Linked DNA regions of Homo sapiens: region 2 is linked to region 1. The links are contacts of gene promoters, found by promoter capture Hi-C in blood cells and fetal thymus (Javierre and others, 2016). All regions are on one chromosome and are shown on one strand. Each heading gives the region's core, a stretch centred on a gene start or on the middle of the fragment in contact. The rest is flanking DNA. Distances are from core to core; before and after follow the strand shown.

Evidence for each region. The method cuts DNA at HindIII sites, captures the fragments that hold promoters and counts their contacts. A CHiCAGO score of 5 or more calls a contact.
Region 2: a contact is called between the fragment with the promoter of HDX here and a fragment that was not itself captured in region 1, in 2 of 17 cell types (total B cells and total CD4 T cells). The highest score is 5.6, in total B cells.

Annotation. Positions count from the first base shown.
Region 1 is chrX:80,805,963-80,812,450 of GRCh38, forward strand. BRWD3 (bromodomain and WD repeat domain containing 3) reads right to left here and starts at 3,915. Exons shown (of 41, transcript NM_153252.5): 1 at 3,479-3,915; 2 at 3,284-3,342; 3 at 3,051-3,080; 4 at 2,577-2,636. The coding sequence starts at 3,509. LOC124905202 (a long non-coding RNA gene) reads left to right here and starts at 2,846. Exons shown (of 2, transcript XR_007068278.1): 1 at 2,846-3,331; 2 at 6,149-6,488. RefSeq lists an enhancer at 4,150-4,229. The HindIII fragment of the contact is 808 bases long and covers 2,588-3,395 here.
Region 2 is chrX:84,500,281-84,506,655 of GRCh38, forward strand. It overlaps HDX (highly divergent homeobox), which reads right to left and starts at 2,173. Exons shown (of 11, transcript NM_001177479.2): 1 at 2,062-2,173. RefSeq lists a silencer at 2,197-2,346. The HindIII fragment of the contact is 2,765 bases long and covers 1-2,726 here.

The sequences.
Region 1 (6,488 bases), core at 1,742-4,241:
CCCAAGAAAAAGTATCCCATCTCTTCTACAATGCAGCCACTCAAAATCAGGTCATATGTGAAATAATTTTAATCAAAAATATTACTGACAAACTTAGCAATCAAACCAACACTGCACATTCACTTCTCAGCCACTACACTTCTGTTCAAATTATCACTCAACCCTGCCCATCTTCTCTTACAAAGAAGTCCATAGGTAGAGAACAGACATGTAAAAGAAAACCATGGTATCTAAACTATAATGTTCAAACAACAGAACAAACTCTGTGTACGTAAAAAAAATAGAAAATATAAAAACAGAAAAGAATATTTAAAAGATACGTTAAAATTGAGTATATGTAAGAATTAACAATTTTATTTAATTCCTTAAAGGTTAAGCCTCACTAGTAATGAAAAAAAAAGAGCTACTTAAGTCAACCAGGAGCTATTGCCATCTATTAAATATTAAAGAAACTGAATGATTTAAAGCTATTAAAAAACTCACTCTAAATACCTAGATGATGACATTATAAATTAGTACAATCTTCTGGAGAGCAAACAATATATGACAAGAGCTATAAAACTCATGAGACCCTTTGACCTGGTAACTCCACTTTAGGGAATAAAGTCCAGGAAAATAACTGGGGGCAGAAGGGATAGGGGAGAAAGTAAAAAGCAGAAAAAGACCACCTAACTATGCAAAGTTATTAGTAAAAATCTGGAAGTAGCTCAAATGCTCAACTGGAAGCTTGGTTCAAATCATATCGTACCTTAAATACAACTGAATTTTTTCTTACCATTAAAATAATGATGACTATTCAAATACACAAGTACATTTTTAAATGTTAAGAAAAATATGAAGCATAAAATGGACACTGATCACAATTATGTAAAAATGTCTTTACAATATGAGGAAAAGTCTAGTAAACTGGGTTGTTGGGGTTTTTTTGGTGAGGAGACTATTTTTTAATTACTTTGATTTTCATTTCCTTTTTATCACTGTCAAGTTAGTTTCAAAAAAGCTTTTTCCTTTTAATCTCCTTTGCCACTTGCTTAAAATAACACATATAGGCTGTGAGAAGGACAAATGTAAAGGAAAACATTTTCAATACACCTCAGTATTAAAACTATATATAAAAACCTGTATCAGTCATTAAGTGTTAAAACATATTAGTAGGCACTGTTGTTTTTGCCTCTTTTAGGGGGAGGGAAAGACTTAAGTCCAACAGAAAGACTGACTACAAATTAACCTGGCAGTACATGAAGTTTTTCAAAACTAATTTTTCTCCATCTGAGAAATTGTTACTATTAATAATACAGATGGTCGAGTTTACCCTTATCACAATTATACCATTTTCTGTGATTTGCAAAATATAAGAAAACTATACAGTCGGTAGACTTGATAATAATAATGTGGCCTCACTGTTGTAAGATAACACAAACAAAAATAACAAAATGAACATTGAAGCAATTTAAATATAGTCTTATTGCAAGCAAATTTTAAATCATTTATATTTAGAGTCTATCATACACCGCCAACTTTCTTTAACTTTGTCCGATTTTCCTCCACTTGGATCTTACTTGAAGGAAAGATAGCTGAATTTAGATTTTAGTAACATCATTCCTTTCTCCTTTCACTACCCTCCAATGCACTGTGGCAGCAGCTAACACAAGGGAACCTCCCCCGCAAAATAAAAAGGATCACCTGTTTTTGTGTGTCAATGCTGAACACAAGGTACATTTATACTATGAATTATATTTGCAGGAGAAACAACATAGACCAATGCCTTTGGTCCTTCACTAAAGTATATTCCATTTTTAAATATGTCCATTGTTGTCTCCTTGTAAACCCAAAATCGTGTTTCACCAATTCTCAAAAAGTGATAACTCAGTTTCTATTTAGTGAAAACGGGTCTATGCAAATGCGACTTAACTGATAATTGAATGAGCTTATAAAATCGGAGATACGTAACGATTATGCTTTTACTCAGTAGACCATTACCTAACCGGCAAAATTTGAAATTGGCTTGACGCTCCTTATTATTTTTAATTATGTCGTTTTTCCTAATCCCTGGTCCGTCAATTCCCCTCCAGAGCCCCTTCCTCCCACGCCTCCCCCCTGCCCCCCCGCCCCCCCCAAAAAAGACCAAGCCTGGCCTTAGTTCCCGTATTTCAGGCCAGGACCAACCAGAAACCAGTTTTCTTCCACTAATCCGGAACTCCGGGCTGTTACCAACGCTGTCATTGGCCAGCGTCAGACCTTAGTACGTGCCCCAAGATAACCCCTTGGTTTCTCTCCCTTTTCCGCCTACAATGGGCCTTCCCCAATGTTTGTAACATATTCATAATCCACAACACGGCACCTCTGATAATCAACTCACATTCTTCAAAGTTTTCGGGTGGAAACAAGCAGGGCCAAGGGGAGGGCAAGGTACCCTTTTTCCGACTAGCAGGGATGGGGGAAGGGGCAGTCGTTCTTTGGCTCTGCACCGAGCTCTAGAACCTCGTCGGCTGAGAGGTGGGGGGCGGGTTGGGGGTACAAGGTGGGGAGGGAGTGGTGAAAGAGTTAGGTTAAGTTGAAATGAAAACTTTACTCACCAGATCCTCGAAGCTTCTTCGGTGCTCTTTCCCCTCCCAATCTAAGCGGCGCGGAATCAGCTGGGGGCCGGACGAAAAGAAAGGGGGAAGCGGAGGCAAATGATGAAGGAAAAGCCTCCGCTCCCCATCAACTGGACCCAACCTGTGTCCCAGTCCTCAACACTTTACCGTCTTTATTTCTCTCGGCCTGATAGCTATTGGCTCAGAGCTAGACAAGTATATGGGGGGGGGGGGGAAGGGGGGTCGAGAAGGAAATCCTGAAAAACTGCCTCCCACAAGCATAAAGCGGGGACGAGTTAAGACCCCAGCGTTGTCTGCCCCTTTTGAGGGAAGAAGCCAATTCACCCCGGTGACAACAGCTACGGGTACCCAGATCGAAGCCTCTATCCCAGCCCGTCTTCCGCCCCTGACTTGCCCTCCCCTTCCTCCAGTCTCACCTCAACCCTCCCCACCCTTCCCGAAGGGGCTCCGTACCTGATGCTCCTCGAGCTCCTGCACTAGCACCTGAGCAAAAGGGAAACACAGATATGAGGAGCAGCTCGGGCCATCAACCCATTCCTCCCTCCACACTTAAAGCCCAGCCGCTGACCGTTTGACTAGTCAAGGCCGGCCTTTCCCTCACCCTCAACGGAACTGCTCGTCCCGCTGCCTCGATTTCCCCACTGGGACCATTCACCACGACTCCCAGATCTCTTTCTTCCCCTTACCTGAGCGGATTTGTTGCAGGGTCCAGACTGCAAGAACCTAGCGATCAGGTAATACAGCTCTGGGGAAGAGGGGGGAAAAGAGGTTCAGAGGGAGGTAGAGAAGAGAAATAGAAGCTTTTTCAAAAGAAACTGACAGCCTTCGCGCTAAGCCCCCATTCCCTTAGCACCCCCCCACCCCCCGACACAGCTACCCACCGGCTTCGATCTGGGTAGGTGCTGCCGCCATCCTTTTCCCGAGGGGGTTTGGGGGCTTCGCTCCGGAGGGGCTGGCGGGGGCGGGTGGGGGCGCTGCCTCTATTGTGGTGAAGCCCCCATGCCCGGGAGTCCCGCCGCTTCCGCCGCACTCCTCGTCCTAGTTTCGCTCTCTCTCGAATTCATCGCATCACGTTTCGACCCATAGATATTCTAGCCCAAGAGCTGAGGAGGCGGAGGAGGAAGGAGAGGAGAGGGAGAGGGAGAGAGAGAGTGAGTGAGTGAGAGAGAGAGAGAGAAGAGAGAGAGAGAGAGAGGAAAAAGAGAGAGAGAGAGAGAGAGAGAGAGAGAGAGAGAGAGAGAGAGACGCGGGGGGTGGGGGGGCGGAGAGAGAGAGAGAGAGAGAGATAGACGGAGCGAGAAGAGGGAGGAGCCGAAGTGGCGAAGAGGTGGGCGGGGGCAAAGGGGGTGGAGAGAGGGGAGGGTAAAAATGGTGATAGGGTTTTGCAGCGCTCATAGTTCCCCGCTAGAGGCACTAATACAGCAGCTGAGCCTAGACTCTCCCGGAGCCCGATGGTTGCTTAGCTACAGCTCTGGGAAGGAGGGGGAGGTGCTAACTGACGGCCGACGCTCTGGCAGCCGCCTTGGAACTCTGTGGTGGCATTCGCGTCTGCGAGCTCCGGAGTGACTTTCCCTTCCTGTGAAGGCAATCCGGCCCTTTCCGGTGGAGGACCCTTCCCCCTGGGTTGATCTTGAGGAACTTAAGAGACGGTGTTTTGACTCGACTCCTTTCCCCTTTTTCCTCCCGGTACCAAAGCGGTTTTGTTTGCTGTTTATACTCTACCCCGTGGAAAGGCGGCTAGCTGGCTAAAGGGTTTTATGCCTGGGGGAGGATGAGTCGCTATTTGGTCGTGACTTGTTTCTGTTTAAAATTATTATTATTTACCAAATGAAAATGTTGTACTTACCAGTCCAAAGTGCGGGGCTTATATTGTTAGAAGACCACTTAAAATGCTCCTGGATTCTGACAAATATTGCATGAGAAATTTGCAATCAGCCGTGAAGCATGTTTCCCCTTCTGAAAGTTTAACACGTGCCGTATCTACGGCTGGGATCTAACACATCCCATTCCTACAGGGTAATTTCCTATTGTGTTTTCAAATACTACTAAAGTACTTTAACCAAGAGTTTTCAATAATCTTTATGTATTATTGCCTATCTCTATGCAAGGTATCAATAGTTTTCTACAGGTTCGGGACTACACTGTTTAATATATAACCCCAACCCTTGGTACCGCACTGACCTTCAGTATTTGGTTGCTGAAATCTTCAATGATGAAAGGGGTTGGTATGATAATTGACACAGATTAGTAAACCGGGTCCTTTTCTTCCCTACTTTCCCGTAACATCCTGTCCCCACCCCACTCCCTCACCTAAACCTGATGAGACCAGAAATGCATTTTAAGTTGCATGTATTATTTACATTGAAATATTACAATTTGAAGGTTCATCTAAATTTAAGGCTATATTCTTGGGAATTGGGTTTCCTCACTCAGCTCTGCCACTGACCACAGTGGGCCTTGAATTTCTAAGTTGACATAAACTTAGCCTAGGTTGATTAGCTCTCACTTGTAATTTTTTTTTTTCCTCAGAAAGCAATAACCACAGGAGGTAATTGTGAAGTGATAGGCTTATCTTTGGTTGTTATTGCCATGGAACTTGACAAAACAAATATGAATAATTGATACAACAAAATGATATAAAAAGATACATGAGACCTAGACAACTCATTGCAAGTAGTTTAGCAAAATACCAGACTGAATAATTTTATAGTTGAAGTATAATGTACAGGTTGAGTATTCTTTATCCAAAGTGCTTGGGACCAGAAATGTTTTGGATTTTGGACTTTTTCAGATTTTGGAATATTTGCATATACATAATGAGATATTTCAGCTATAGGACCCAAGTCTAAATTTGAATTTCATTTGTTCCATTTATACCTTATACACATAGACTGAAGATAATTTTATATAATATTTTCAATAACTTTGTGCACGAAACAAAGTCTTGACTGCCTTTTGACTGTGATCCTCCACTTGAGGTCAGATGTGGAATTTTCCATTTGTGGCATCATGTTGACACTCAAAAATTTTGGATTTTGGAGCATTTTGAATTTTGGATTTTTAGATTAGGGATGTTTGACCTGTATGTAACAGTTAACACTTAACAAGCCATTATCATGTCCTCAGCACTTTTACGTGCTTACCTCATTTAATCTTTACAATGACCCTAGGAGATAGGTTCAATTGTTATTCTCATTTTACAAATGATAAAAATGACTATGAATTTGGTCCACTCACAGCCTGTGAACCTCATTCCTCACCTGTAAAATGTGAATAATAAATAGTATTTGCCATGTCTACTTCAAGGAATTGTTATAAAATTCGTGTGAAAATGTATTTGTGTACTCTTTCAAAATTTATGTGGCAGTTATTCCATGATCACCTCTGTATCAGTCAGTTCAATTATTAATGATAACAGGAAATTGGAATAATGAGGGCTTAGCTAGCAAGAAGTAAAGAGAACTCTAAATACTACAGATGTAGCAGGTATATAATAGTAGATATGATAGCCACTACCCCTGGAACTGAGATAAAGCATTCTCTTCCCTTAGCTGAGATCCAGACCTTCTTAGAGAGAACACAGCCAGTGGAGAGTCACTCTATGGCAGGAAATATTCTGTATTGCCTTACAGGCAGAACTTGCTGAAACTCCAACCTCTGGAAATTACTGGAACCCTGCATTCTAGAACTTGCTGGAAACCCACCCTCTGGAATTGGCCTGCTAGAGTGCCTGAGAAGGATGTTCATAGGGAAATGTTTCAGCAGAGGAACTCTACTACAAAAACCACAAGAGGGAGGGTGCCAGGGGAAGTGGCCTGGTGCTATTGAAACTGCAACACAGAAGCCAGCCACTGGAGAGAGCTGCACAAGCTGCAGGAACACCCTACCCAG
Region 2 (6,375 bases), core at 923-3,422, 3.7 Mb after region 1:
CTTCATTTCCCAGGAAATTGTTTTCTAGGGGAAAAAAAAAGAACATATATAGCTACAGCTATTTTGATTATTCAGTTAGGTGCTATGGGCAGATAATAAAGAAATGGATGTCATGGTCCCAACCCTTAAGGAAGGGTTTAAAATCCATTTGAGGATTCCAGTCTAACACACACACACACACACACACACACAACAACAACAACAACAACAATAACAAAGGAGACAATACAAAGCAGCCTACAAGCAACTAACAAAGACAATAATTGACGTGGGAATTCTAGGAAAAGTGAGGTCAGTAACACTTGCATTAGATTAATTTGGAAGGCACTTGTGGAGGGGTGGAATTTGAGTTGAGTTTCCAAAGTGGGTAAGATGTGAATTATGTAGAAGGAGGACATCCTACGTGGAGGGGACAGTAATGGTATAAGGAGCAAAGATATAAAGGTAGATTGTTCTCACTAACTGAACATTAAAGAGAGTTGTGCCCTGAAGAATAAAGGAAAATAAGGCTCCTGCATTACAATGAGGCCAGATTATGAAGTTCTTTAAAATTCGGGTGGAATTAGGCTTGAAACAATAGAAAATAAGGGGCCAAGAATATGTTGGTTAAAGAAAGTGATTTGTTGAAAGAAGTGTTCACAGACCACTAAGGATTTGGGGCACAGGTGAAGACTGCCTAGGAAGCTCCTACAGTGACTACATGGGTGCTGATGAGAATTTAGATTGTAAAGGAGGAACGTGTGAGAAGGCTTTCAAAGGAAAATTTACCAGTACTTGATAATCCCTTAACTATGAGAAATAGAGAAAAATCCAGATTCCTCTGTAAAATTGTCAGGAGTCTATGATCAGACTGTGGAGGGCAATTAATAACAATACTGTACAATCTATTCATCAATAATAGACAGGCAGGTTGTTCTTCATTGTTCCCCACAACTGCTGAGTAATAAAAGCCTTAATATAAGTAATATAACAGCCTTCCCAATGAAGGGGTGCGGGAAAGGGCTTCTCAAAATAATATTTGACTTCAGTGATTCTAGCAGAGACACAGAGGAAGAAGATGGACTCAGCACCAAACTTGATATGGAGACTAAATATTTATAAGAGATTGTCCCAAGAAGAGAAAAAGGCAAGAAAGGAAAATTTCTTACTCTGAGCCTCCACAATGGACTTCATTCTGAGTCTTTCCAAAGAATTTAAGGTTCAAAATCATTGTCACCTCAAATCAGAGCTCCTTTAAGATTAAAAGTTAGATTCATTTGAATAATTAGTGTTTATTTTTCCAAACAGTTTCTTATCTGATAAACTTCTATTTCACAAATTCTTCTAGAGTTCATTCCGTTATTCAACATCTAATATCTGGAAATTTAGAATGTGCCTTCTCAAATTTATAAGGCTCATTTTGAAGCTGGATTTACTCAGTAGGCCAGTTTAAACTAAATGGCAGATCTCTCCCCATCAACTGGTGCTTGAAACATCACAAGGCCTGGGATGTTCCCTGGGTCTCTACTTTCCAAATTCAGCACAGAAATGGCTCAGCCCCACCTCTTCCAGTGAAACCGAAACAGCGCCTGTGCAAACTCCACGCCTATTCTCCTCACAGTGACCCACCCCGCCCCCACCAAGGTGCTAATGCGCAGGCGCTACGCTCTCAGTGCCTTTGAGTAGGGCTGTGAGAAATCTACTGTCCAGTGAAATCTAGAAGTGGTAGAATTCAATCCCCTCCTTTCTTCGGAGGCAGAGGCGCCACTTCCTCCTACTACCCGTCCAGAAGCGCGTCCCAAACATCGCTCTCTCTCCGAGCAAGGTCCTTCGCTCTCTGGCAATCCCCATTGTATCCCTATCCGCAGCTCGTTTCTAATCTCACTCAGCCGCCAGCCTTCGCTAGGAGGATAGAGGCACTTGGCTCCCTAGGATCCGCACCAGTTTTTTGTCTGCCTGTTTAGGCCACGGAACCTATGGACCCCCCCACCCCCAACCTCGCCCCAAACTAGGAAAAGCATTATCCCGGTGCTTTGCCCTCCCTCCTTCGCCCTTCTCACCCACTTAGTGTTGAGTGCTTACCTCGGGTGTGGTGCGGTTACGAAAGGAATCAGCGGAACCCAGATCAGGCCGCTGCTGGGGCAGGCGGATTCAGCGAGATTTTTCCTGGGTCTCCAGTGCCGCTTCAGACAATGAAATCAGCGTGTCCGATCATCAATTCTCATCATGATCGTGACGTCACAAAAGACAGCGGCCAATGGGAGCCTGCGATCAGCTCAGGACAGTCCCTGGCCTCAGCCCAGAACCCAAGAGTTGGGAGGGGGGAAGAGAGATGGCTGCCTGCAACTGGACTGCCTCTTCCTCACACAAATCAGCTACATCTACGGCCAGGGCTCTCTATACCTTCCTGAATAGCTGTGAACACCGAGCATCCCTGTGACTATAGTAGTTACATGCCAGCCATTTGAGCAGGTGCTGCCTGGCCTTCCAACTTGACATTGGGTTTTAACAAAATTGTTACATGCTGCCAAAATCAAATGATAGCATAAGGAAATACAGTCCTTTGTGGTCAGTGTTCGATTGACAGGTAAATATTCAGTTTTACTAAAATCAATAAGGTGTCCATCGAGCCTTTAGAATTTTACAGTAAAAGCAAGTGTACTATTATACGTGACTGGTTGGCTCTGATGACTGAGGAAAGAAACTATGGTTTTTATTCATCCAACCTCAATTCCTATTCTGGCAGAAGCTTCTTGGGTGATCACCATTATACCATTCCAGAAAAGAAGTCAAGCCACATGTTACATCATTTAACAGTCACTTGATATACTTCCCAGATTTGCTGGATGCCATGAGAGATATAGAATTCATTGATTCTCTGCTATCATAGAACTTGCAACATCGTTTGGAAGACAAGATTAGCACACAGTAAATATTCACAACAATAAAATAAAGTACATGATCATGTGCTCAGTCATTAACTACAGACAAGAGCTACATTATTTAATTATTGGAGACATCAGTGAGGTGAAAAGTCAGGGAAGCATTTTATGTAATTAAAACTTGAGATGGTTCTTGAATGGTGGATAAGAGCAGATGGAAGTCACCGTCTTAAAGGGGAAAGATAGGCAAAGGTAGAGACGTATAAATTCATATGATGTGAGGAAGCCCATGATGAAATCAGCTTGACAAATAGAGGGCATATGCTGAGGACTAGTGGTAGATGGAATTGGCTAATAATAAAAGCCTTTGAAAATAGGCAGATAACTTTTATTTGATTAAAAGCCACCAAAAGCCATAAAGCATGTGACCTCAATCCTCTATAGTCAATTATCTACAGAGGAGTTTAGGTGATTTTTTAAAACAAAAGCCAGATTATGCTCAACTTCAGATTGTTCAATGGTTTCCTTTCACATATACAATAAAATGCAGATTTCTTACCATGTCCTCAAAGCCCTAAATGATCTGGCCTCCGCCATCTTTCTGACCTCACCTCCTGTCACTCAGCCACTAATTCACAAATATATTAATCTTCTATTTCTCAAACAAGTCAAGCTCATGTCCACAGCAGTGACCCTGTACTGTTGTACTGTCTGATCTTTATATGACTTACTCCATCACTTGATTGAAATCTTTGCTCAAATGCAACCTCTTTAAAGAGGTTTTCCTATTTAAAATTGTGATATCCTTAACACTCTCTATACCCTTTTTTCTGTTTCATTTTTCTTCATAGTATTTATTATTATTAAATGTATTTTATATATTTAGTTATTGCAAATGTAAGCTCTATGAAGGCAGGGATTTTTGTCTGTTTTGTTTATTATTATATCCCTCAAATCTAGAAAGCCTCTAAATACAAAGTAGACAAATAAGTAAGTACGTATTGAATGAATGACTGAAAGCACATTTTTCAAGTCATTAATTTGCATTTTCAGTAACATTGCGATAGGCTGGAGTGAGAGAGACCAGTTAGACAGTTGTAATGCTAACCCAGCTTCTAGGTGACACACCCCTAGATTAGGGTGTTAAAAATGATGAAATATGAGACTTTCAAAGAAGGAATTATATGGGTAAAGTGGAGGATTCAGAAAAAGCCTATTGATAATTGATTAACGTATTCATAAATTACGTTTATGAATTACCTGAAACTGAAGTGATATGAGAAAAAGGATCAGAGTCCCTACCCTTGAAGGGTTTATAATGCAAAGACACAAGAAGACTTGTATGAAATCACAGTACAAATAGAGGCAATTAAATTAATCCAATTTTTCCTTCCTCTTTTCCCCTCTCACTCTGTAGCTAAGCCACTAGTATGTTTGAAGACTGTACCTTCAAATTAGGCCCCAAATCTGAATACTCTGTACCTCCTCTATCACCGTTACACTAAAGTCACTGTAACTTCTAGTTTGAAATACTGCAAAAGCATCTTACATCGTTTATTTTCTTCCACTCTTGTCCTTCTTCAAAAGTTTCTCTTAACATCAGTCAAAATATTCTTTATAAAGTTTGAATCAGACCATATCACTACCTGATTTAAAGCCCTCCAAATGCATCTCATTACATTAACAATAAAGTCCCAAGTCCTTTCTATGGTGTATTTCCCACCATTTGTTCCTGCCCTGGCTCATTATGCTGTAGCTACTCTGGTCTTTTTGGTTATCTGTTTTCTCTCTGGAATGCCTATTTCCTCTTCAGAGACTTTGCATTTGCTATTATTTCTTGGGAAACTCTTTCCCCAGATCTTCACATAGCATACTTCACATAATTCAGGCTGTCTGCTAAAATGTTACCTTCTCAGATGGGACTTCATGGACCAATCAATTTAAAATAGCATTGCCCCACCACCACCACAATTATCTGTCTCCTGTATCTTCTTGCTGTGCTTAATTTTTCTCATATCACTATGGAAAAATACATTATTAGTTTTGTTGGTTAGTTATTTTGCCTTTCCCCAACAGAATGAAAAGTTCAAGGGGGTAGGAAGTTGCCTCTCTTATTACTGTTATATCTCCAGTACCTAGAGTTGTAGTGGTACCTAGCATTAAGTAGGCACTCAATGGGTCTTTGTTGAATGAATAGATAGGGGAGAGCATAGATTGTGTAGTGCAGTAATAGGTATTCAGGGATGAGAGATGTTTTCAATACATGCCTAAGATACCGGTACCTGTCCTGTTCACAATATATCAATTAAAAGCATGTTTATTGAACTTGTAAGTAAAAAGTATCTAAGTAGAATAATTAAACCATGGATATTAACCAAGATTTCAAAGATCTCAAAAGACTCAACAAACAAATGCAATAAAATGAAGTTTGACATGGATAAACAGTAAGTCTTGATTCTAGGTTTACAAAAATCAGTTGCATAAGTACAGGAAGGGCAATAAACACCTAAGTTGGGAAGTTCATCTAAAAATTCTGTAAATTCAATATGAACTGGTATAACAAAGCTGTTAAACAAGATAATTCATACTTAAACTACATTAATAAAAAGTTATTATCTGAATCAAGAGAGTTAAGGGTTCTACTAGTCTCTACCCTAGTCAGACCACACTTGGTCTCTTCTGTTGATTATCCTTATTTTAAAATAAACATTCACAAATAGCTGCATTTAGAGAAGAAAAACCAGGATGATGAGGCATCTAAAAAATACATGATTTGAGGCAAGTCTCCAGGAGCTGAGGATGCTTAGCTTAAAGAGGAGAAGATCTCAAGAATATATAACTACCTTCAAATATTTGAAAGACTGCTGAGCAAAGACAAATGTGACTTATGTTGTGGTTTTCCAGAGGGCACTACCAAGGCCAAAATGGATAACTGATGGGAAAAAAAAGTCTCAGCTTAAAATTCAAGTGTTCAAAAATGATAGAGACTGTTTTGTAAAGTCAAAAGGCCTCAATCACTGGGAATGTTTCAGTGACCATCAGTCAGCAACGTTGAAGGATTATCTATATTGAGTGACTGCTAAAGTTGATTTCAACACAAAATTTACCGATTTTTGGATTATGTCAGAAGGAAGTTAGTCAGGAAAATGCCTTAAAGAAAAAAGTGAGTTTGGTATTTTAAGATTTGGTTTAGTCTGGTGGAGCTGAATCTAGGTTGGGGTACCACTAATAAAAGATAACCAATTTACTGCTCTCCCATTCTTCATTGGGGGAAAAAAACATGTTCACAGTGCATTTTGGGTGAACATAAAACTGCATACACCAAAGAAAGTTCTCCCAACTTAATTTTTTTCTTAATTTTCCAATTAATAAGGAATTTATTCTTAAGTTCATTTTAACCAACACAATCATTTATTGATATATGTGAGACCTGCCTAAATGAGCCCAGAACACAGCTCTAACCATTGGATTGCTAGGTTTAAAAAACTAACTTTCAATCTACTTAAAGTTACAT